4 separate regions of the Homo sapiens genome follow, and regions 2, 3 and 4 are each linked to region 1. Evidence: promoter capture Hi-C in 16 types of primary human blood cells and fetal thymus (Javierre and others, 2016). All regions are on one chromosome and are shown on one strand. The core of a region is centred on a gene start or on the middle of the fragment in contact, and the rest is flanking DNA. Distances in the headings are between cores, read along the strand shown. Region 1 holds the start of ELAC2 (elaC ribonuclease Z 2). Region 2 overlaps MAP2K4 (mitogen-activated protein kinase kinase 4). Region 3 overlaps MAP2K4 (mitogen-activated protein kinase kinase 4). Region 4 has its middle 85 kb from the start of MIR744.

Region 1 (6,153 bases), core at 2,229-4,728:
GCAACTATTCAAGTATTTAAAAGGTTACCAATAGGTATCAACATAAAACAAAGCTTAGTAAATATTTTGAACATCATTTATTACAAATATTTACTGAGTATCCATTATATCAGATGCCAAGGATATAGCAGGAAAAAGAGATGGAGGCCTTGCTCTAATCAGGCCAGTGGAGGAGACAAAAGGAAACACGATAACAGAAACAGCTTAGTGGCATTATGCTAAGTGCTCTGCAAGGAAAATGAAAAATACAGAAGGCTGGGATCCAACTTGTCTAGAGAAGAAGAGGCAGTTCTGGAGTAAATGACCCTCTAGCTGAGCCCTGAAGGTTCAGTAACAATATAGGCAGCAATTAGAAGAGGCAGAGGGAACCCGCGGAAGGGCGAAAGTCCTGAAGTGGCCAGGGAGTTAGAGGGACATAAGAGTCAGCCCATGCAGCTGCAGTTCAGCGATGGGTACAGATGGAAGTGTGGGTAGCGGCCGGGGCCTACAGGACTTGTAGGCCATATCAAGGTGTTTTGATTGTATTGCAATGGGGAGCCCATGAAGGGCTTTAGGGTGGCAAGTGACACACTACTTTTCTGTCTTGAAGTGACCTCTCTGGCTGCTGTGTGGCAGATGGATTACAGGAAGGCGAGAATGAATATGGGAGGCTATTGTAGTTTACAGGCATAGAAAACAGAAATAAGGAAGGCCTCAATAAGAGACAAATGGATGGATTTCAAACGTTATTTTGGGGAAAGACTTAACAGGTCTTGGTGACTTTCTTCTTAAGGACTGGAAAATGAACTGTTATATTCAACAACACACACACGCCTTCTCAAGAGTGTAATAAGCTGGACTGAAAGGTAAGAAGATGTCAGAAATTTATTGAATAAAAACAAAAGCTGCCCTTTCTTGTGTGCCTACTTGGTGCCAAACATATATCTAATAAAGTGATTTAGTGCTTTATATGTGCTGCTACGTCATTTAATCTTTAACAACTCTATGAAACGTGATAGTCATCTTATAGATGAATAAACTAAAGCTCAGAAAGGTAAAGTAACTTGATCAAGGTCACATAGTTAATCAGAACTCAAGTCTTTTTAACTTGAAAGGGGAAGCGTTTCAACGACCAGGTATCTCTGGAGGGCAGAAGACTGATTTGCAAAAAGGAAAATTCTTGTTACTGATATTACAAAAGGAAAGATTGCTTTTGAAAGATGTGTCAGGAAAGACTCACCAGTTGTGGAGGTCCAGAAAGTACACACTTTGGAAGCCCGGTTTCCTTTAAAGTAAGAATCATTCCTAAAAAGGATGCATAAAATCAGATCTCTCATCAATTTGACCTGTCGTCACTAACAGGAGGAGCACCCCGTACTAATCCAACTATTTATCTACATCTCCACCTTCCAGCTTTGGAAGTACAACCAGGGAAGATGTACAGAGCAGAAGTGATGCCAGCTAGAGGTGTAACAGACACCAAATATTCTTTAAATGCCTCTAGAATGGGCTGAGCTGTCACTAGGGTGAAGCAGCAAGGCACCCAGTGTGCAAAATGTAAGGAATCATGCAAGTGAAGGGCTGGCACCCTAAGTGCCTCACCCTAGTCTCAGCCCTGAGAAGGGAGACTGGTCTAACACTTCACTCCTTCCGGTCCATGCCACCAAGCCCACACAATTTGGCTGCAACACAATCCTGACCTTCCGGTTGATAGACATAAATGACAGGGTAATCTGGACAGTGGGTATGTGTGTGGCTGCCAATGTGCCAATGGCGTCTGCGGTAAACATATTAACTGTAATCACCACTGCTAGACTCTCCAGTTTACTGCCACAAATCTCTGTCCCCGCAACGCAAGAAACTAAGTGGATGGTAACACTTAAGAGGTGGTATCCATATTAAAATCTGTTCTCCTGAGTCACAGCTTTTAATGCTCTGTGCTGCTGCTGACTGGGCTGGTATAAAAAGAATTCCAGGCCAGGTGCGGTGGCTCATGCCTGTAATCCCAGCACTCTGGGAGGCCGAGACAGGAGGATCGCAGAAGTTTGAGACCAGCCTGGGCAACATAGCAAAACCCCGTCGCTACAAAACATACAAAAAAAATTAGCCAGGTGTGATGGGGCACACGTGTGGTCCCAGCTATTTGGGAGGCTGAGGTGAGGGGATCACCTGAGCCCAGAAGGCAAAGGTTGCAGTGAGCCAAGATCACGCCACTGACAAAAAAAAAAAAAAAAAAAAAAGTAGCTGCCCACCCCAGACTTGGAAAAATGGTAAAGCCGGTTAAAATCCCAGAGACTTCCCACCAGCCTCTGACACTGCAAAGAATATACTCACCACTTAAGCCCCCAACATTAGACCAGTGCATTCGTGTCAGGAATATGTTGTCCAGGCGAGCAACCTTTAACCTAAGAATGAAAAAACATTTAAACAGGATAACATGAACAGAACAAGGACCACTTTTGCTATAAAAAACAACTGGCCTCTCATTTCGGCTTTCAAGCCCCGTAATCAACTCCCCCTCCGAAAGCAAGAGACTGACTCACTTGTGCTCCTGCATGAGTCTCTGAACGCCTTCTCCACAGTTGAAGAGATACCTACAAGACAAACATTACACAAGACATTCAGAAGGTTTTATTCTGTAAACTCTCTGACACCAATTAGATGTTTTATTGTAGACTCTGGAAAAAAAAAAAAGAAAAAAAAATTAAAAGTCCACGTTGGACTACCGAGCCACATTTATGCTGGTGGGTTTTGAGCCCTCCTTAGCAGAGGTGGAGAGGAGTGGGGGCCTGTGTGTGTGGGTGCTAGGACAAAATGAGTCCTTTCTCCACCACCGGCTACACACCAGATCTGTCCACCCCACACGCTAACAACGACACACTGGCCTTGGGGTGCACGGAAGAGGGTGGAGCTCCGAAAGTGCTGACAGCCAGGCCGGGGCCCAAGGGTTGGGAAAAGGACGCTCAGACCCAGGCCTGAAGTTCTTCACAGATCCGCAGAAATCACATGGATGCAAAGAATCTCGGATTTCCCACCCACCATAACTCCACGAACCCCCGCAACAGTGAACCACATGTGTGAAGCAGGGAAGCCGAAGCCCTGGGAGGTGCCCCGATGCTCAGAGGCTGCGCCGCACTGAGGGCCCAGCGGGACGGGGCGTGGCTCGTTGACTGACCGGTTGAACTCGGAGAAGACGTAGAGCGCGGCGCCCGAGTCCCGGCTACCCGCTGCCACCACCTGCAGGTACACGGTGTTTGGGCCGCCGGAGCACCCCGACGGTCCGCGCTTCTCTCGCGTGCGCAGGTGCCGCAGCGGGTCCTTGCGCGGCCGCTCGCGGCGGGCGGGTGCCTGCGATATGGTGCGTCCCTGCGACATGGTGCGTCCGGCCGCGGACCGCAGCAGCGAGCAAAGCGCCCACATGCGCCCGTCTCCACCAAAACTGAGAAAGCCGCCGGTCACCTACGCCCGCGTTTCCCGTGCACCACCTAGCCGCTCCGCATGGCGGATCCAGCCAATCAGCGCGCCGTGCACCGAGCTTCCCGCCTACGCGAGGCTGCTCATCCAATAGAAAGGAGCTTTACCGCTCGGGACTTGTCAATTGACAGTGGCCATAGAGTAGAGGAATACTAGAGCGTCTCAAGCGGCCCCGCCCCTAGTTCTGTTCCGGTTTGCCGGCCGCAATTTTTTCCGGAAGCTGTTTTTCTCCTGGGGCGGGACTTCCGGAAGCACAGTGCCAGGAAAAGCCTTCCTGGGGAAGGCGGGACCTAGGAGTTTGGAGTTTCGCTAAAACGCTCCTGTTCTCACCAGATAAGAGCTGTGTCCTCCGGGCACGTCAGTCCCTCAGAGCTTGAGTTAGAGGTGGTTGTAGTGGTTGTGAGGATTAAATGTGAGGAAATCAATTGTATTGAGCATTAGCATAAGCGCTTTGCTAATTTTATTTCCATTGTAATTCGTATGCATACATGTTAGAACTTGATCATTTTTACGTGGTGTCCCGAGCTTGTAGTCCCAGCTACTTGGGAGGCTGAGGCAGGAGAATCGCTTAAGCGCGGAGGCGGAGGTTGCGGTGAGTCGAAATCGCGCCACTGCACTCCAGCCTGGGTGACACCTCGAGACCCTGTCTCAAAACAAAACAAAACAAAACAAAAATTGTAGTGTTTTTTGGAAAGAAAAGCAAGAATAGAGGACAAGCTCTAAAGCAAGAGTCTTGGCTCATTTGTTAGCTGCGTGATCTTGACCTCTCAGAGCCTCAGCTTTCTTATGTGTAAAATGTAATAACAGCAATAACAGTATCTCCTACTTCAGAATATAGAATTCAGTCACCTGATAATATATCAATAGACCTTTGAGTGGCACTGTCACAGAAGAGGCACCCAGTAAATGATAGAAAATTAATACAAAATGTTTCAACTCCTAGACAATATAGCTGACCAGGGACATCACAGAGGTAGATGTCCCAATACCAGCTTTTTGAAAAAAACACCCAGTCCCCTCTTATGTAGCTAATGAGGATTTCTCACTGAAAGGGATATCAGTTAAAGCCGCTAGAAATACAGGGAGCTCCCTTAAAAGAGGAAGATAATTTACCTGGAAGCTCCACTCAAATATGATTTTTTAAAGATAATTTACCTGGAAGCTCCACTGACATATGATTTTTTTAAATAAATACTGAAAGATGTCACTTTTATTCAGGAAGTAAGGGAGATTCAAGTCATGTAGATTCCTACTCGAAAATCTTGACACCTGACTTTCCAGGATCACATTTTCATATGGAGACCAGTTTCCTCTTGGTTTCTTCAGTTAAGTCAAAACTACACGTTCCTCTTTCCCCATATATTTTTGCTCATTAGTGTATTTCTTGAGCTGTTTTCATTCAAATATGAAATTTTTTATGGAAGATTATCACCCACGGTGTGAAAACGTTTTGTACTTGAAATAACCATCCCAGTGAGGGTCAGGAAAACACTTCAGATCTACTTTACACAGTTAGAGGGCGTTACAAACTGAAAAGATTATCATACCACCATCTCCATAAGTATTTGAAATAAAAATGATAGTTTTTAAAAGTTGCTTAAAGCCTGGGCACCGTGGCACATATCTGTAATCCCAGCACTTTGGGAGGCCAAGGCGGGAGAATAGCTTCAGGCTAGTAGTTCAAAACCTGCTCTGTGGCCAGGCATGGTGGCTTATGCCTGTAATCCCAGCACTTTGGGAGGCCGAGGCAGGTGGATCACCTGAGGTCAGGAGTTCGAGACCAGCCTGGCCAACATGATGAAACCCCGTCTCTACTAAAAACACAAAAATTAGCCGGGAGTGGTTGCATGGGCCTGTAATCCCAGCTACTGGGGAGGTTGAGGCAGGAGAATCACTTGAACCCCAGAGACAGAGGTTGCAGTGAGCCAAGATCACACCATTGCACTCCAGCCTGGGTGACAGAGGGAGATTCCATCTCAAAAACAAACAAACAAACCAGCTCTGGCAACAAAGCGAGACCTCATCTCTACCAAAAAATACTAAAAAATTTAAAAATAAGTAAAAATTAGCTGGACATGGTGGCACACACCTGTTGTCCCAGCTACTCTGAAGGCTGAGACAGGAGGATCACATGAACCCAGGGGTTTGAGGCTGCAGTGAGCTATGATCATACCACTTTACTCCAGCCTGGCTGACAGAGTGAGACACTCTCTACAAAAAAAAAAAAAAAAAAAAAAGAAAAAGAAAATTAATTCATTAAAACTACTTTTAAAAAGTGTAGTGCAATAAATAAAATACTGATTTTTTTCCTGTGATGACTGCTTTGATCCTTTTAAAAAATATATCAAATTTCACAAACAAAAATACATTGGTTCCTCTATTTTATTGGTGCCCTATGTGCATATCTATCTGTTGGGTAATCTCAAACTACTTATCTCAAAATTATAGGAGGAATCACTTTTGGTCATCGACTTATATAAAATTCTGAGGGCTGGATGCTATTTAGGTTGTTTCTAGGGCCCAGTGTACTTTCTGCACTTATGCTTTGGGTCATATTTTTATTCCTGGTATATGAAGACAATAGCTAGTACTTCTTCAATCTGAGGTTATACTGGAATGTAAATTTCATGAGCCTGGGATTTGTCTATCTGGTCCTCTGCTGTATCATTAGCTCCTAGGACAGAGTCTGGCTTGTGGCAG
Region 2 (6,153 bases), core at 2,481-4,980, 950 kb before region 1:
ATATATATATATAGCGTGTGTGTATATGTATTTATGTATACATGTGTTTCTGTGCTTATGTGCATGTATCACATACTCTGGTGTTGAAAATATGAGTCTGGTGCCAGAAGTGAAGTTGTAGATTGGAGATAAAAAGTTGAAAATTGCTGCCATATAGATGAAAGGGTTGCCTAGGAAGAGAGTGAGAATGTATTTTGATGAGAAAATTGTGTCCAGGGCTGAGCCCCAAGAAAATCTAACATTTAGAGGTTGGATAGAAGAGGAGGGACAGGCAAAAATTAAAAGATGCTTGATAATTAGGAAGCAAACTGGTAGTGCATGATGTTATAGAAATCTAGCATTGTTTCAAAGTGCAGTTGGGAAGGAATTGTGGTTGGCTATGTCTAATGTTCTGAGAATGCTAGTAAAGCTACCTTGTTGGCAAAAACTCCTGAGATACACTTTAAACTACTCTTAATTTCTTACTTACTTGGGAAGAGGTTTTAGCTGCCACTGGAAATTGGGGCCTAAACAGGGAAAGGATCTCATGAAAACATGTAACCTATAGATTTAGGGCAGTTTTCCTTACCTTTTCTTGAAGAAGCATAGCCCAGAAAAACTGTTCTAAGGGTAAACTTAGAGTACAACTGACACAGGATCAGCTCTTAGGAAACAGTCAATAGCAACATGATGCAAACATGAATGTTTGTCTTGTCCTCTTTAATGTTACTCTTTTCTGTGGTGATAAAACATTTCTTTGTATGTCATAAATCAGTACTACTTCAGAATACTGCAGACTTATCTAATTTGTCTAATACATTCTGTTCACTAAATATGAGTATCAGAATTTGAAATTTTCTATTTAGAATGTTTGAGCCATTCTTCTGGACATTTCATTTTTCAGTTTTTCCTTTTGCCTCATCTTAGATCACAGCAAAGATACTCATTTGTTGGTAGTGCCAGGAAGCAGGCAGTTTCCATGGTAACTGACAGACCGAGTTTACTGTGGAAATTTCCGGAATTAACAGAGCTGCATTGCAGAAGGATGCATAAAGCAGTATTCATCTAGAGATCGTAACAGTACGGACACAGAAGAACAGTTGCAGTGATGTGCAGGGTATGTCTTACCTTTATTTTCCTGTCTAAGGAAGATTAGTCATATATATATATATATATATATATATATATATATATATATATATATATATATATATATATATGCATGCTGAGGAGACAGTAAAACAGCTTGGGGCGTTTTAGTATATGCTGGCTTGATACAGTCAAAGTTGCTTAGGAAAAAGAAGGAAGAAATGATTTGGGAAAGAAGGTATATTTGATAGCATTGGGAAGAAATCAAGATCAGATGATCGAGGTAGAAGAATGTGATAGTGAAATAAGAGGAGAAAACATACTTCAAACTAATTAAATAATAAAAGGTTCTTACGGATAGTGGTTCTAGGCACAAGAAGATATTTATTTATTTATTGAAGGAAAATAGTAGACATTGTCAAGTTTGAGAAATCAAGTTCTCATGTGCAGGAAAAAGAAATCTGTTAAGATAATTAGCTATTACTTGCTGAAAGATAGGTAGATATGAGAGATGTCCAGGATATTAAACAAGGAGGTTTGCTGCCATCTTAGCGTACTTACCTAAGTGATGAGAGAATCCTAGAAGGGTTTCTGCCCCTAATTCCACTCTCTGTTGATTGGTGGGCCATTTTCAAGAAAAATTCTGAAATGTATCTTGAGATTAAATTCTGGAAACAGAACTATAGGATTTGGGCAGATAATTGAAGGTGCTTATCATATAGAGCATAATTATAAATGTAAAAGAGAAAAAGGATATAGAAAATATGATTTAGATTATTTGCATGATAGATGCAATTTAGGTTGCTAGATACCATTTGGTATCATTTATATCATGTAGTCAGCAAACTACAGCTCATGAGCTGAATCCATCCTGTTTGCTTGTTTTTGTAAGTAAAGTTTTATTGGAACATAGCCACACCCATCTGGCTGCATAGTTGCAGGAGACTAGTGGCTTGCAAAGCCTAAAATATTTGCTATCTGGTTCTTTACAGAAAAAGGTTGTGACTCATGATTTAGATGGTGTACTGGATTTTTCAAGGCTTCTGTGAGATTACCACAAACTTGGTGGCTTAAAACAACAGAAATTTATTCTCTCACAGTTCTAGAGGCCAGAAATCTGAAGGTGTTGGCAGGGCCATGCTTCTCCCGAAGGTTCTGGGGGAGGATCCCCCCTTTCTTTCAGCTTCTGGTACTGCTGCTCTTCCTTGGCTTGTGGCAGCATAACCGTAATCTCTATGGTCTTCTTCCCTGTGTCTGTCTTGTGCATCTCTATCTTCTCCTTTTCTTTGTTTGGTCTCCTATAAGGATAGTTATTTTATTTAGTGCCCACCTAATCCAGAATCTCTTTTTTGAGATCTTTAATTTTATCCGTAAAGATAGGTTACTTTCTGAGATTCTGGATGGACCTATCTTTTTTTTGTGTGGTGGGTGGTGTATAGTTCACCCTACTACAGATGGTATTGAAGAACTGGGTTTTGGCTTCTTAAATCACATTGTATATTAAGGATAGCCAGTTCTTAGTGTTTCCTTTGACCTGCTGGAGAAGATATTAAACTCACATTTCAAAGGCAAGGTGATAGAGGCATAGTTGAATCATAGAAGATAGCCTTTGTGACACAAACATAAGCAGTAGAGTAAAGGGAGTACTAGAAAATTCATAGGAGAAAGAGTACTAAAATATTCACTGGAGACGGATGAAGACCAGTGCCTGATGCTTCATATCGTTCTCTTCTTGTCTCTTCATATTTTTCTCACCCTAACTCCCACCTCCAAAAAAACAACAAAATGAATTTGAAATTTTAATGAAAAATGGTTGGCACAAAAACAAAAATCACAGTTTTGAGGAATGGCTCATCGCTAAATTACGGCACTGGGAAATATATATATATGATTCAAAAGAAGTAGACTTAATAAGCAAGTAGAGGAGTGGCAGTGTAGAAGGTACACACCAATGTATAGACCAGTGAACCTGAGATTTGGCTTTTGTTGAGAGCCTTTTTGTCATTGTGGGAGTATACAAACTATTGGCCTGGGCAGGAGAGAAGGTCTGTGACATTTTCCTCTTCTCATATGGGCATATTTGTAAACCATAATAACAGTGGTAGGTATCTATTTGCATTCCCTGGAAGTCTCATTTACTGTATTTGGGTATATTCTGAAATGTTTAAAAAGTGATGAATTCACATGGTGAAGAATCAAATAGTAGGCAAGGGATTCCAATGTAGACGCTGGAGCTGCAGAGAAAAGCCACCTTATATTGCCTATATTCTCACCTGCGCACTTTGAAATGAAGCTTCTGATACAGACTTCATGGAGATGATCATAGAAGAATTAAATAGAAATGGTTAATCCAAATTAGGGTTCACTAAGAGTAAGTAAGCAGTTCCAAACTAGCCTAATATACTTTTTTGAAAGTGTTACTAGGACTGTAGATCAGGAGTTTGGAACAGACTAGGTGTATCTTGATTTCAACATTTATGGGCACAGAGGAGGAACATGAAGCCCAATACAGTATTTTCAGGAAGTTTCTTAGAAGGACAAGAGTGAAGTCTGCGTTTTCTTTCTAATCAAATTCTGTTAGTCTGTGACCATGTATATTCTGAATATCAAATAGGAAGCCATGGGAATGAAAGTTTTCTTATTTTCTTCCTTTAACAAAACATTTGAATTGTATGCCTAAATACCTTCATAGAAAGATACAAATTCCCTTGAATCCAACTACAATTAGACTTTTAACTTTTAATTTTTCTGTTAGTGTCATGAGTATATGATAAGAATATCATAAGGAACTAGAATAAAATCAGGTATAAAGCATAGATTGGGATTAAATTGAGCTGGTTGATCATAGTTCACATGTACAGGCTAAAATTTAAGCAGTATAAGGTACTCATGAATACCCTAGATTTCAGGTCTTTGTGTTATGTAAAATACACATGTTCCTAAATGTGTCTATACATAAAATTTATTTCTATAAAATTGTTTTCCTTTTCTCATCGACATGTTTAAATAAGTGTCTCAAAAATAATAAAAGTAAGCTTGAGGGTGTTTAATAAGTAGGTGTTCAAAACACAACTCACATAGTATTAAGAATTAGCTAACAGATCACAAATGAAAAGTAGTTGAGACTCTTGGTTTTTAATTTGCTTTAAGAACTAAATTTCTGACTTTGTAAAAGCAATCTGAGGTTTGTAGTACAAAATGATATATGAGTAGCAGTGTCCTGCTAAAATATTTATTAAGAAACAAAGATGAAAATATGAAACACTGAAAATTAAGATGACTTAACTCCCTATAGGATCTGATAATGGATACTAATAGTAACACAGCCAGAATAAGGAAAATTTTTACCCAGGGATTCTTTTATAGCAGAGACTTCATCCCTTTTCATGTTCATTTCTTCTCCTGCCCACACTGGTAACTACCAGAAAAAAACTGGGGAGAGATGGGAAGAGGGAGGATGCTGATGAATTTTATCTGGGAAGTGTCATTATGAGTGAAGTGTACTAGGTGGAAGTAGAGAAGGATTGTAGTAACAGTATAGTGCTGCCCAGTATAGACTTAGGATTGTATTTTTATATTGCTGTTATCAGTCCAGAATACAGTATTAGAGACCAAGAAAATTGGAGAGAGGAGAATTTACCATGGGAGCAGTGAGTGCTCTGATTTGTAATATACTAAGCCTTAGATATCTCAAATCTGCCTTTGAACCATAGGCATGTAATGGGCAAATCCGTATCAGACAAGTAGAGTGCAGCCCAAGGATAATCTTCTTTTTCTTTCTCTCCTTCTCTCAGCAGTTTTATTGAGGTATAATTGGCATAGAATAAACTGTACATATTTAAAGCGTATAATTTGCTAGGTTTTGACATATGTGTACATCTGTGATGCCATCACCATAGTCAAGTTAACATATCCGTCATTCCCAGAATTTCTTCCTTCTCGTTGTAGATTTTTTTTTTTTTTTTTTCTGAGACGGAGTCTCGTACTGTTGCCTGGGCTGGAGTGCAGTGGCGTGATCTCGGCTCACTGGGAACCTCTGCCTCCCGGGTTGAAGAGATTCTACTGCCTCAGCCTCCCAAGTAGCTGGGATTACAGGTGCCCACCACCACGCCCAGCTAATTTTTGTATTTTTAGTAGAGACGGGGGTTCACCATGTTGGCCAAGCTGAGCTCAAACTCCCGACCTCGTGATTCGCCCACCTCGGCCTCCCAAAGTGCGGGGACTACAGGTGTGAGCCACTGTGCCTGGCCTCTTGTTGTAGTTTTTGTGTTTAGACATTTGATTTGGTTATTTTTTCTGTCTTCCACGTCTATATTTAACATACTCTATCCATCCTTTCGTTTTTTTAATATATGGAACGTGGTAAATGTTTCATTGTCTTTATTCTAGTATTTTTGTCATTTCTGGTCAGTTGCAATTGATTGATGTTTTTCTCTTCACTATGGGTCATGTTTTTCTGCTTTTTTGTATACTGTGGTAATTTTAGATTGCATCCCAGAGATTATTGTGTGATGGCTGTTTTTGTATTTTCATGAATGTTTTTGAGTTTTGTTCTTTGGTTAAGTTACTTGGAGATAGTTTGATCCTTTCAGGTCTTGCTTTTTAGCTTTCGCAGATGAGACTACTCTAGAGCTAATTTTGCCTTACTAGTAAGGTAAAATCCTTCTAACTACTTTATTGGTTTCCAATCAGGAAGCTTTCCACTCCAGTGGCTAAGAATAGGAGCTGCCTTGTATGAGCCTGGGTATCATGCCTTCTTAATCCTTTTAGGTGGCTTATTCTTCAGGCTTGTATAGGTTCCTCACAATCATCCGCTGATCAAGGAGGGCCCTCTGCATATCGGTGGGGTTCTCTTTCTGTGTAGCTGTCTCTTATCCTGTACTCTGCCATGTGAACTTTGGCTACCTTGGTCTCCCTAGATTCCCAGATCCTTGTCCGCAACTCAAGGGTACTGCCAGGATCTTCCTGGATCCCCGCTCCCTGTATCACAGTTGGTGAACTCTTCAGCAGTAAGCTGGGGACACTTGTAGGGCTCACCTTACATATTTCCGGTCTTTCAGTGTCTGCTGCCCTTTGTTTCCTGAT
Region 3 (6,153 bases), core at 1,845-4,344, 880 kb before region 1:
ATGACTCAAATTGGCTGCTTCCTCCTTTTAAAAAACAATCAATTCTGTACTAATTTGCACACAGTATGGATAGTTTATATAATTGCATAAATGTGATCATTTTATGTATTTCATTTTTATGACATATTTGCTTAAAATGATCTGTGTAAGTCATAGGGTATAATATCTAAAATGATCACCTGTGAACCTTCCATCAGGGTTTCTTTTTAACTCCTTGATCTCTTTATTGGTTTTGTTCTGTATGTGTTGGTACTTGTACATGTTTATTTCTGTTTCCCTTGATGCCATAATAGAGTGACAGTTTTAGACATTGGAGTCCCATTGTTTTCCCTGAGTAGGTTCATAGTTCCATGTCATTGCAAATCATTAAGGTCTACATTGAAGTGTACTTATGTTCATAATATGCTCATATTAGCTCTCCACATTTGTCCATTCTTTCTGCCACTCTTTGTCTTGGACATTGCCTGTAATCTCTAACCTGGATCATTCAGATTTCTCATAATCCAATATTGATTTTCTTATAATCCAATATTGTCTTGTTCCAAATTATTCCCCTTTTTATTAGAGTTGTATTTTTTATGATGTATATCTGATCATGTTACTTCTCTATCTAAAGTATGCATTCTTAGCAGGGTGATATTGACCCTAAGGAGGCAAAAATTGATTTTGGAGAAATGAAAATCTTAGGTTGTATAATGGTTTTTAGTCCTCCAAAGGGCCATAGAATATAAACAGATATGCACTATATCTATCATATTTAAATTTCATGATGGGGAGGATAAATAATGAAAAAAATACTGAGAGATACTATTCTATAGAGACTTCCTCTTGTCCTTAAAATTAATTAATTTAGGCTTTCAGAACCCATTACGATCTGGACTTAGTTTATTGCTCTGGTCACATTTCTTTTTTTTTTTTTTTTTCTTTCTTGTTTTTTTGGAGATGGAGTCTCAGTTGCCCAGGCTGGAGTGTAATGATGTGGTCGCAGCTCACTGCAACCTCCACCTCCCGGGTTCAAACGATTCTTCTGCCTCAGCCTCCTGAGTACTGCTGGGATTACAGGCACCTGCCACCACACCCAGCTAATTTTTTTTTTTTAAGTAGAGACAGTTTTCACCATGTTGGCCAGGCTGATCTCGAACTTCTGACCTCGTGATCTGCCCGCCTCGACCTCCCAGAGCGCTGGGATTACAGGCATGAGCCACTGCCCCCGGCCCGCTCTAGCCACATTTCTCATGACTTCCCTCTCCTTGAATGGTTTCTGCCAAACTGAATTTCTTCAGTTACATAAATTAAAAGCACATACAGGATAATATGGGAGAATGTTTTCATTACGTTTGGGTAAAGATTTCTGAAACAGAACGTAGAAAGTAGCCAAACCTAAGAGAAAGATTGATTAAAAAAAAATGGATTTCATTAAAATTAAGAACTTCCATTGATTAAAAGACAGCACTGAATGACATGCCAAGCCACACAGTAGAAGGAGATATTTTTCATACTTATATTCGACGAAGGACTTTTACACAGAATATGTAAAGAATACTTAAAAATGTAAAACACTTATGAAAAATAACAACCAAAAATAGCAAAATACTTGAAAGGCACTTTAAAGATGATATTCAAGAGGCCAGTAAACATATTCAATTTACTGCATTCATTCTGCATTATTAGTAATCAGGAGACATGCAGGTCAGAACTACAGTGAAATACCACTATAATTACCAGAATGACCACAGTTTAAAATACTGACAGTACCAAATATTGGTGAGGATCTGAAGCAACTGGAAGTCTCATACATAACTTGTAGGAGTATAAATTAGTACAGTTCCTTTGAAAAACAAGCAGTATCCAGTATAGCTGATCTAATATGGTTGATGTATACACCATGGTTCAGCAATTCAAGTTCTGACTATATACCCAACAAAAGTGTGGACATAAATACACTAAAAGACATATGTAAGAATGTCCGGAAAAGCACATTTATAACCTACAATTAGAAACTCTCTCCACAGTAGAACAGATAATAAATTGTAGCATTATGTATACAGCAGTATATAGCATCAGAGAAGATAGAACCATTGCTTCACTCAGCAACTTCAGTAAATCTCACGAATGATGTTGAGTGAAAGAAGACAGAAAGCAGTATGTATGGTTCTATTTCTATATGAAAGTTAAAAGCAAACAATATAAGGTATTGGAAGTCAGAATATTGTTACTTTTTAGTTCTGCACTTAGGAGTTGTGTTTTCTGTATGTCTGCTTCGATTAAAAGTTTTCCTAAGGAAAAAAAAAAAAGGATAAGACTTAATGGTTCAAAAGGAAGACCTTGCCGACTGAGGTGTCTGAGCGCTCAGCATTGGGAAATGGTCGACTCGTGGGTTGATAAAAAGAATTTACAGACAACAGTATAGGTTTGAAAAAGGAAAGTTTATTAGAAAGAAAGTATGCTGCAGAAGAGTGCAGAAGGGTGCTGAGCGTGCCACAGTGGATTTTTCCTTAGGGGTATTTATGGACCTTAAAGCTTGAGGATAATTTGGACCATATTAGCCATGTAGGTAACAATAAATGATTACATTTGTAGTAATTTTGGTTCCTTAATGTCAGCAAGTGTTGCACAGTGAATTTCGACATGGCATTCTGGAGATGTATAGAAATTCTAGTTACTTACAAAGTTTTTTTGGGGAAAAAATCTGGAACCAATGCCTGCTTTAGATAATAGGGAAGTCTGATTACTTCTTGGGTTTTGTTGTTGTTGTTGTTGTTGTTGTTTTTAATATGGAGCCTTGCTCTGTCGCCCAGGCTGGAGTGTAGTGGCGCGATCTCAGCTCACTGCAACCTCTGCCTCACAGGTTCAAGCGATTCTCCTGCCTCAGCCTCCTAAGTAGCTGGGACTACAGGCTCATGCCACCATGCCTGGCTAATTTATGTATGTTTAATAGAGATGGGGTTTCACCACACTGGCCAGGCTGGTCTTGAACTGCTGACCTCAAGTAATCCGCCCGCTTCAGCCTCCCAGAGTGCTGGGATTACAGGCGTGAGCCACTGCGCCAGGCTGGGAAGTTTAATTACTTCTGATTTTCCCCAGATAAGGAATTTTGCTTCTAGATTGCCTGTTGGATAGTCATCGGGTGGTTTTTGCTCCTTCTGCATTCCTCAGATAAGGAATTTTTGTCTCTAGGGCCTGTTCAGTGGTCACCAAGTGATTTTGCTCTCCTCAGATCTCAGCCCATATTTTAAACTGTTTCCCAATTTAACTATCTATTGAAATCACCATTGGAATTTTTTTTAGGGGAAAAATTCTTTATTTGTCCTGGGGGAAGAAAAAACAAAAAATGTTATTCTTGAGGAATTTTTGTGAAACTCTGGATGGGGATAAGACTGAATTCAGGGATGGATTGCCTAATCCAAAATTTATCGTGTGCAGAGGGGAATATAAAAAGTCACTAGGACGATATAAGACCCATATACAACTCTGTAGCTTGGGCAGCAGACCTGGAAGAAGAGGCAACTTGTGGGACTGCCTAATTGTGCAACTAATTAGGCAGTAAAGCTCGATCCTGAAATGTCTTGAGGAAATGCCTTCTGTGCTAGATCTCACAGGCAGCTGGGACAGTGTAGTAGTATCTACTCCTGCCTTTCTCTTAGCAGCAAGACCTGTAAAGAAAAGCTCAAGCTTTGCTGAAATAACTTCTAACAACAACGCCTGTGTTGGTTAGAGGGCGGGAGCACAGTGCATGCTGTTAGAGCAAATGCAAAAATTAAATCCCTATAGTAGGTGATGATGCTGCAGTGATGGCTCTCCACCTAGGTGATGATACTGCAATGATGGCTCTCCACCTAGGTGATGATACTGCAATGATGGCTCTCCACCTGTTTCTCACAGTTAACCTGAATCCATAGCTGAGATTAACTGTGATAAAGAAAAATCACTAACAGATGAAAACTTTCAGTGATTCGGAGAATTGTACCTAAGAAATCTAAACAAATATTTCCTTTAAAATGTCACAGAAAAAAAAACAAGGTAAAAAATTGTAAGGAGGGAATAATTTGAATTCCAGAAACGTTATCTTCAGATAGTAAACATGATTCCTGAACTGAATGGGGGAAAATGGTGGCACACAGCAGATTGAGTATTGCAGGTTAACCAGATCTGTAAGTAACACCGTTTAGTTAATCTTTAAGAATAAAGGGCTAAAAAGATGAACATGAGGTAAATGGTAAGAGAGAAGAAAAATCCAAAATATTCTATTTAGCTGATTGTAGACAAAGAATTAAAATTAAAATTCCTTCTACTTGAAGAATAACTCAAGTTCTTAGATTAAAATACCAGACCAAATTAAACAAGAGAGTAGAGGGAAGCCACATCTAGATGTGTTCTGAGAAAAGATAAGACTTGACAAGTTTTCAATTAAAACACATGCACACAAATGTACACAAAACACCAAGTCAGCAATACCTGAAGAGCAGAGAAACAGCTATAACAGGAGGAATGTGGTTACTTCACATTACTTTGGTGCATTAGATATCTTGGACAACACTTGCACTGAAACTACTAAAATGCTGGATAAGCTTTTTATTTTATTTATTTTGAGATAGGGTCTCACTCACTCTGTCACCCAGACTGGAGTGCAGTGGCATGATTGCAGCTTACTGCAACCTCAACTTCCCAGGCTCAAGCGATCCTCCCATCTCAGCCCCCCGAGTAGCTGGGACTACAGGAATGTGCCACTACACCTGGCTAATTTTTGTTTTTTTGTTGTTTTTTGCTTTTTTGTTTTGAGACGGACTTTTGCTCTTGTTGCCCAGGCTGGAGTGCAATGGCATGATCTCGGCTCACCGCAGCCTCAACCTCCCGGTTTCAAGTGATTCTCCTGCCTCAGCCTCCAGAGTAGCTGGATTACAGGCATGCACCACCACACCTGGCTAATTTTGTATTTTTAGTAGAGTTGGGGTTTCTCCATGTTGGTCAGGTTGGTCAGCTCTTGACCTCAGGTGATCCGCCTGCCTCGGCCTCCCAAAGTGTTGGGATTACAGGCGCGAGCCACTGCGCCTGGCCCACCTGGCTAATTTCTTAAAAAAATTTTTGTAGAGACTGGATTTCACTGTATTACCCTGGTTGGTCTTAAACTCCTAGGCTTAAGCGATCCTCCTGCCTCGGCTTCCCGGAGTATTGGGATTACAGTGGCGTGAGCCACTGTACCTGGCCTGGATAAGCATTTTAAAGTGCCATTTATTTATTTAGGACAGAGTCTGGCTCTGTCGCACAGGCTGGAGTGCAGTGGCATGATCTTGGCTCACTGCAGCCTCCACCTCCCAGGTTCAAGTGATTCTCCTGTCTCAGCCTCCTGAGTAGCTGGGACTACAGGCACGCACCACCACTCCCAGCTAATTTTTGTATTTTTAGTACAGACAGGGTTTTGCCACGTTGGCCAGGCTAGTCTCGAACTCCTGACCTCAGGTGATCCGCCTGCCTCAGCCTCCCAAAGTTCTGGCATTACAGGGGTGAACCATCGTGCCCCACCTAAAGTCCCTCTTAAAATGTAAAAGAGTTGGTGCAAAACTGAGGAATCCATGGAGCTCTGAAGTTGACTGAAATTCAGGGAGGGAGATTATGGGAGAGAAGGAAGAGTCAAAGTAAATTAAAGGATAACCCAAGCAAATGTAGATTTGCCATCTAAATTCATATTGAATATGGTAAAAATACTTAGAGAATTTAATTTTAAGAAAAATTACTTTTCAGAGTCCCTGGTTGGAAAGATATGCTCCTCTTGCCCCCAGTTGATGGGCAGAAGCAAAAGCAAATCATTCAGCCTAGGACTAAATGATTCCAAAAAATAAAGTCAAGTGGAATATGTAGTCCACAAAAAAATCTCAACACTCACAAAAGAAATGAGAATCAGAAACAATGGATAGTAGGAATAGATCTGCAAAGGCTTCAAATATTGGAATGAAAGGAAACAAAAAATAAGTTTAAAGAAAAAGAGGCAGCTTAGAAATATAAGCAGGGAACACATTTATAAAGAACCAAATAGAACTTCTAGAAATAAAAAGCATAAATTAAAACAATAGCTGCATTCAACAGATTAGATATCATTGAAGAGAGATTAATGAACTAGAAGACAGAGCTGAAGCTCTCCCAATAAAACTTTTTGAG
Region 4 (6,153 bases), core at 1,510-4,009, 850 kb before region 1:
TTAACAGGTATCTTGGTTATTCTTGACACCCTTTTCCTCCATATGTATTTTAAAAATAGCTCTGTTGAACTATAATCCACATACCACATAATTCAGCCATTTAATGTGTACGATTTAACAGTTTTTAGTATATTCAAAGATATGTGCCACCATTGCCACAGTCAATTTTAGAATGTTTTAATTACCTCAAAAAACTCACATACTCTGACAAGCTCTCTCTCACTCTAACCCTGCCCAGTCCTAAGTAACCACTAATCTACTTTCCTTCTATAGATTTCCCCGGTCTGGACTTTCACACAAATGGGATTAGATAATACGTGGACTTTTATGTTTGGCTTCTTAATGGATTTTCAGAGTTCATGTAAGTACCATATATTAGTACTTCATTTGTTTTTATGACTACATAATATTCCATTGTATGAATATGAATATGACTAAATAATATTCCATTACACGAATATACCACTTTTTAAATCCATTTATTTGTTGCTTAACATTTGTGGTGTTGTTTCCACCTTTTGGCTATTATGAATAATGCTGCATGAATATTTATGTGTGGATTTCGGTGTGGACGTATGTTTTCATTTCTTATGAATATTCCTAGAAGTGGATTTTCTGGGCCATATGTTAACACTACGTGCAACCATGTGAGGAACTGGCAGACTGTTTTCTAAAGCAGCTGTACAATCTCACATTCTCACATAGCAGTATATGAGGATTTTGATTTCTTTACTTTTTTTGTTCTCCCTAAGAGTTTTATAGTCTAAAACTATAAAGAGCAAAACTCTTACACTTATATCCTTGACTCATTTTGAGTTACCTTTGTATTTGATGTAAAATAAGAGACCAACTTCATTCTTTTGTATGTAGCTATCCAGCTGTTCTTTCCCCACTGAACAGTCTTGGCACTTTGCTGAAAATCAGTAGGCCATAGATGCATGGATTTATTTCTGGACTCTCAAGTTTACTCCATTTATTGATATATTAGTCCTTGTACTAGTACCACATTGTCTTGATTATCATTGTTTTGCAGTAGGTTTTGAAATTGGGAAGTATGAGTCATCCCCCTTTGTTCTTTTTCAGGATTATTTAGTGTATTGGTCCATCTTATGTTGCTATAAAGAGATACTTGAGGCTGGGTAATTTATAAAGAAAAGAGGTTTAATTGGCTCAAGGTTCTGCAGGCTGAACATAAAGGAAGCATAGTGCCAGCATCTGCTTCTGGTGAGGCTTTAAGAAACTTATAATCTTGGCAGAAGGTGACAGGGAGCAGGGAGCCAGCATGTTCCATGGCAAAGGGAGAGCAAGAGACAAAGGGGGAAGGTCCCAGACTTTTAAAAATAGCCAGATGTCATGTGAACTCAGAGTAAGAGCCCATTTATCACAAAGAGGATGGTGCCATGCCATTCATGAGGGATCCACCCCCATGATCCAATACCACCCACTAGGCCCCACCTCCAATATTAGAGATCACATTTTAACATGAAGTTTGGAGGAGGCACACATCCAAACCATATATTTTTCCCCTGCTCCCCCTAAATCTCACATCCTTTTCACATTGGAAAATACAATCATTCCTTCCCCAAAGTTCTTCAAAATCTTAAAGCATTCTAGCATCAACTCACTCAAAAGTTCAAAGTCCAAAGTCTCATCTGAAACTGAAGTCAAGTTTCTTCCATCCATGAGCCTGCAAAGTCAAAACCAAATTATTTACTTCCAAGATGCAATAGTGGTGTACAGGCATTGAGTAAACATTCCCATTCCAAAAGGGAGAAATTGGCAAAAAGAAGAGGGTACAAGGCCCCATGCAAGTCTGAAACCCAGCAGGGCAGGCATTAAATCTTAAAGCTCCAGCATAATTCTTAACTCTGTATCTTGCATCCTGGTGCAAGGGATGGGCTCCCAAGGCCTTGGGTAGCTTCATCCCTGTGCCTTTCCTGGGCACAGCCCATGTGACTGCTCTCGTGGGTTAGAGTTGAGTGCCTGCAGCTTTTCTGGGCTCAGGGTGCAAGCTGCAAGTGGACCTACCATTCTGGGGTCTAGAGGGTGGTGGACCCTTCCCACAGCTCCACTAGTATGGACTCTGTGTAGGGTGCTCCAACCCCACATTTCCCCTCAGCATTGCCCTGGAGTTTCTCTATGGGGGCTCCAACCCTGTAGCAGGCTTCTGCCTGGGCACCCAGGCTTTTCCATACATCCTCTGAGATCTAGCTGGCAGATGCCAAACCAAGATTTCCTTCATTCTTGCATTCTGTATTTCTACAGGCTTAACACCACATGGAAGCTTCCAAGGCTTATGGCTTGCATGCTCTGAAGTGGGAGCCCAAGGTATACCTGAAGTCCTTTGAGCCACAGCTGGAGCTGTAGCAGCAGGGTTATGGGGTGCAGCCTCTTGAGGTAGTGTAGAGCAGCAGAGTCCCAGTCCTGAACCTTGAAACCATTTTTTCCTACTAGGCCTTTGGGCTTGTGATGGGAGGGGCTGCCTTGAAGATCTCTGAAATGCCTTTGAGACTATTTTCCCATTGTCTTGGATATTAGCAGTTTGCTCCCTTTTAGTCATGCTAATCTCTCTAGCAACTGGTTGTTCCACAGCCTGCTTGGATTCTTTCTCTACCATAAGGCCAGGCTGCAAAATTTCTAAATGTTGACACTGCTTCCCTTTTAAATATAAGTTGCAACTTTAAGTCATTCCTTTGCTCCCACATCTGATAATAGGTTGTTAGAAACAGCCATACCACTTCTTGAACACTTTGTTGCTTAGAAATTTCTTCTATGAAATTTCGTCACTCTTAATTTCAAATTTCCACAGATCTCTAAAACATGCACACAATGCAGCTGAGTTCTTTGCTAGGGCATAACATGGGTAACTCCAGTTGATAGGGCATAACTCCAATAACTGGAGTTATTTCCTCATTTCCATCTCATCAGCCTGGACATCACTGTCCATATTTTTTCAGCATTTTAATCACAATAATTTAATCAGTCTCTAAGAAATTGCAAACTTTCCCTCATCTTTCTATCATCTTCTCCAAACTCTTCCACCTCTGCCTATTACCAAGTTGCAAAGCCACTTCCACATTTTCAGGTATCTTTGTAGCAATGCCCCACACCTTGGTACCAATTATCTGTATTAATTCATTCTTGTGTTTCTATAAATAAATACCTGAAGCTGAGTAATTTATAAAGAAAAAGTTAATAAAACTTCTTTATAAAACTTTATAAAACTTATAAAGAAAAGCTTAATTTGCTCACAGTTTTGTAGGCTGTAGATGAAGTATATCAGCATCTGGTGAGGCTCATCAGCTTCTGGTGAGGCCTCAGGAAGCTAAGAATCCTGGTGGAAGGTGATGGAGAGCCAGCATGTCACATGGCAAGAGCAGGAGCAAGAGAGAGAGAGAGAGTCGGAGAGGTCCCAGACTCTTAAACAACCAGATCTCATGTGAACTCAGAGCAAGAGCACATTTATCACAAAGGGGATAGTGCTAGGCCATTCATGAGGGATCTGCCCCATGATCTAACACCTCCCACTAGGCCCCACCTCCAACACTGGAGATCTCATTTCAACGTATTTGGATGGGACACACATCATATCCTTTGGCTATGCTAGATCACTTGCAATTTTATACAGATTTTAGGATAAAATTTTCAATTTATACAAAGAAGTCAGCTGAGATTCTTAGAGGGAGTGTGTTCATTCTTTAGATCAGTTTGGGAATCAGTTTATCATTTTAACAATGTTAAGTCTTCCAATCCATAAATATGGGATGTTTTTCCATTTATTTAGGTCTTCTTTAATTTCTTTCAACAATATTTTATAGTTTTTAGGGTATAAGATGTGCACTTTTTTGGATAAATGTATTCCTAAAGATTTTATTTTATTTATTGTTTATTTTACTTTTTTATTTTATTATTTCATTTTATTTTATTGAGACAGAGACTTGTTCTCTCAACCAGGCTGGAATGCAGTGGCATGATCTTGGCTCACTGCAACTTCTACCTCCTAGGTTCAAGCAATTCTTGTGCCTCAGCCTCCCAAGTAGCTGGGATTACAGTCATGCATCACCATGCCCAGCTATTTTTTTGTATTTTTGGTAGAGATGGGGTTTCACCATGTTGGCCAGGCTGGTCTCGAACTCCTGGCCTCAAATGATCCTCCTACCTCGATCTCCCAAAGTGCTGGGATTACAGGCATGAGCCACCACATCTGGCCTTATTTTATTTTTTGATGCTATTATGAACAGAATTATTAGGTCCTTCCTTCCTTCCTTCCTTCCTGCCTTCCTGCCTTCCTTCCTTCCTGCCTTCCTGCCTTCCTGCCTTCCTGCCTTCCTTCCTCCCTTCCTCCCTTCCTTCCTTCCTCACAGTATCACTCTGTCACCCAGGCTGGAGTGCAGTAGCACAATCAGCTCACTGCAGCCTTCTCTTCCCTGGGCTCAAGAGATCCTCCTGTCTCAGCCTCCTGAGTAGCTGGGACTATAGGCATGCACCACTACACCTGACTAATTTTTTTTTATTTTTTGTAGAGACAGGATTTTGCCATGTTGCTCAGGCTGGTCTTGAACTCCTGGCCTCAAGTGATTCTCCATCCTCGGCCTCCCAGAGAGCTGGGATTACAGGTGTGAGCCACTGTGCCTGCCCCAGAATTGTTTTCTTAATTTCATTTTCAGATGTTCACTGCAAATGTATAGAAATACAATTGATTTTTATATAGATACTGTATCTTGCAACCTTGCTGAGTTCATTTATTAATTCTAATTCTTTTTTCAAAAAGTAGATTAATTCATATTTTCTATATACAAGATAGTTTACTTCTTCCCTTCCTATCTGGGTTTTGTTTTGTTTTGTTTTTGTTTTTTTTGAGACAAAGTCTAGCTAGACATAGTCACCCTGACTAGAGTGCATTGGTACCATCTTGGCTCACTGCAACCTCTGTCTCCTAGGTTCAAGTGATTCTCCCACCTCAGCCTCCTGAGTAGCTGGGACTCAAGGTGCACGCCACCACGCCCAGCTAATTTTTGTATTTTTTGGTAGAGATGGGGTTTCACCATATCAGCCAGGCTGTTCTCAAACTCCCAACCTCAAGTGATCTGCCCGCCTTGGCCTTCCAAAGTGCTGAAATTACAGGCATGAGCCATTGCATCTGGCCTTCCTTTCCTATTCAGATGCCTTTTATATATTTTTCTTGCCAAGTTTCTCTGGATAAAATCTCTGGTAAATGTTTTAGTAGAGATGGGGTTTCTCCATGTTGGTCAGGCTGGTCTCAAACTCCTGACCTCAGGTGATCCGCCTGCCTCGGCCTCCCAAAGTACTGGGATTACAGGTGTGCGCCTCCGTGCCCAGTCATGTTTGTTTTTTTTTTAATACCATAAAGGCATGCTGGATTTTGTCAAATGCTCTTTGGGCATCCATTGGCATGATTGTGTGATCTTTATTCTATTGATATGTATGACATTAACTGATTTTCAGATACTGAAATAACTTACATTCCTGGGATAAATCCTAGTTAGTCATGGTGTGTAATTCTTATATGTTGCTGTATTTGATTTGTTAGCATTTTGTCAAAAATTTTTGTGTACGTATTCTTAAGAGATAAATAGTTTTATTTTCTTGTGACGTCTCTGTCTGGTTTTGTCATTTTATTCTAAAATAATTTGGGAAGTGTTTTCTCCTCTTCAATTTTCAGAAGAGTTTGTGAAATAAAGAATTGGTATTAATTCTTATTTAAATATTTGGTAGAATTTATAGGTGAAGCCCTCTGGGCCTGATATTTTCTTTGTGAGTAATTTTAAAACTACTAACTCAGCCTTTCTAGGTGTTATGGGTCTATTCAGATTGTTTATTTCTTCTTAAATTAATTTTGGTATTTTGTGCCTTCCTGGGATTTGTTTATTTCTTTTTTTGGGCATATAATCATTAATTAGAATTCCTTTCTAATACTTTTTATTGTTGTAAGTTTATAGTCCTATATCCTCTTTCATTCCTGATTCTAGAAATCAGTCTTCTGTATTTTTATTAGGGTCAGTTTAGCCAAGTGTGTTAATTTTATTGATGTTTTCCTAGAACAAGTTTTTTGTTTTATTGATTTATCTCCATTGTTTGTCTGTTCTCTATTTCATTTATTCTTGCCCTGATCTTAATTATGTTCATACCTTC

What was found. The method cuts DNA at HindIII sites, captures the fragments that hold promoters and counts their contacts. A CHiCAGO score of 5 or more calls a contact.
Region 2: a fragment that was not itself captured here is called in contact with the fragment with the promoter of ELAC2 in region 1 in 1 of 17 cell types (M2 macrophages); the score reaches 5.2 in M2 macrophages.
Region 3: a fragment that was not itself captured here is called in contact with the fragment with the promoter of ELAC2 in region 1 in 1 of 17 cell types (M2 macrophages); the score reaches 5.5 in M2 macrophages.
Region 4: a fragment that was not itself captured here is called in contact with the fragment with the promoter of ELAC2 in region 1 in 1 of 17 cell types (endothelial precursors); the score reaches 9.6 in endothelial precursors.

What each region holds. Positions count from the first base shown.
Region 1 is chr17:13,014,549-13,020,701 of GRCh38, forward strand. It overlaps ELAC2 (elaC ribonuclease Z 2), which reads right to left and starts at 3,479. Exons shown (of 24, transcript NM_018127.7): 1 at 3,155-3,479; 2 at 2,523-2,573; 3 at 2,314-2,384; 4 at 1,220-1,284. The coding sequence starts at 3,399. RefSeq lists enhancers at 2,795-3,295, 2,807-2,916, 2,937-2,996 and a silencer at 3,517-3,596. The HindIII fragment of the contact is 8,738 bases long and covers 52-6,153 here.
Region 2 is chr17:12,068,754-12,074,906 of GRCh38, forward strand. The region is part of intron 2 of MAP2K4 (mitogen-activated protein kinase kinase 4); the gene reads left to right. Among named protein-coding and RNA genes, the nearest start is that of MIR744, 10 kb to the right of the region's middle. The HindIII fragment of the contact is 742 bases long and covers 3,360-4,101 here.
Region 3 is chr17:12,130,329-12,136,481 of GRCh38, forward strand. The region is part of intron 9 of MAP2K4 (mitogen-activated protein kinase kinase 4); the gene reads left to right. Among named protein-coding and RNA genes, the nearest start is that of MIR744, 52 kb to the left of the region's middle. The HindIII fragment of the contact is 1,152 bases long and covers 2,519-3,670 here.
Region 4 is chr17:12,163,647-12,169,799 of GRCh38, forward strand. No RefSeq gene overlaps it. Among named protein-coding and RNA genes, the nearest start is that of MIR744, 85 kb to the left of the region's middle. The HindIII fragment of the contact is 954 bases long and covers 2,283-3,236 here.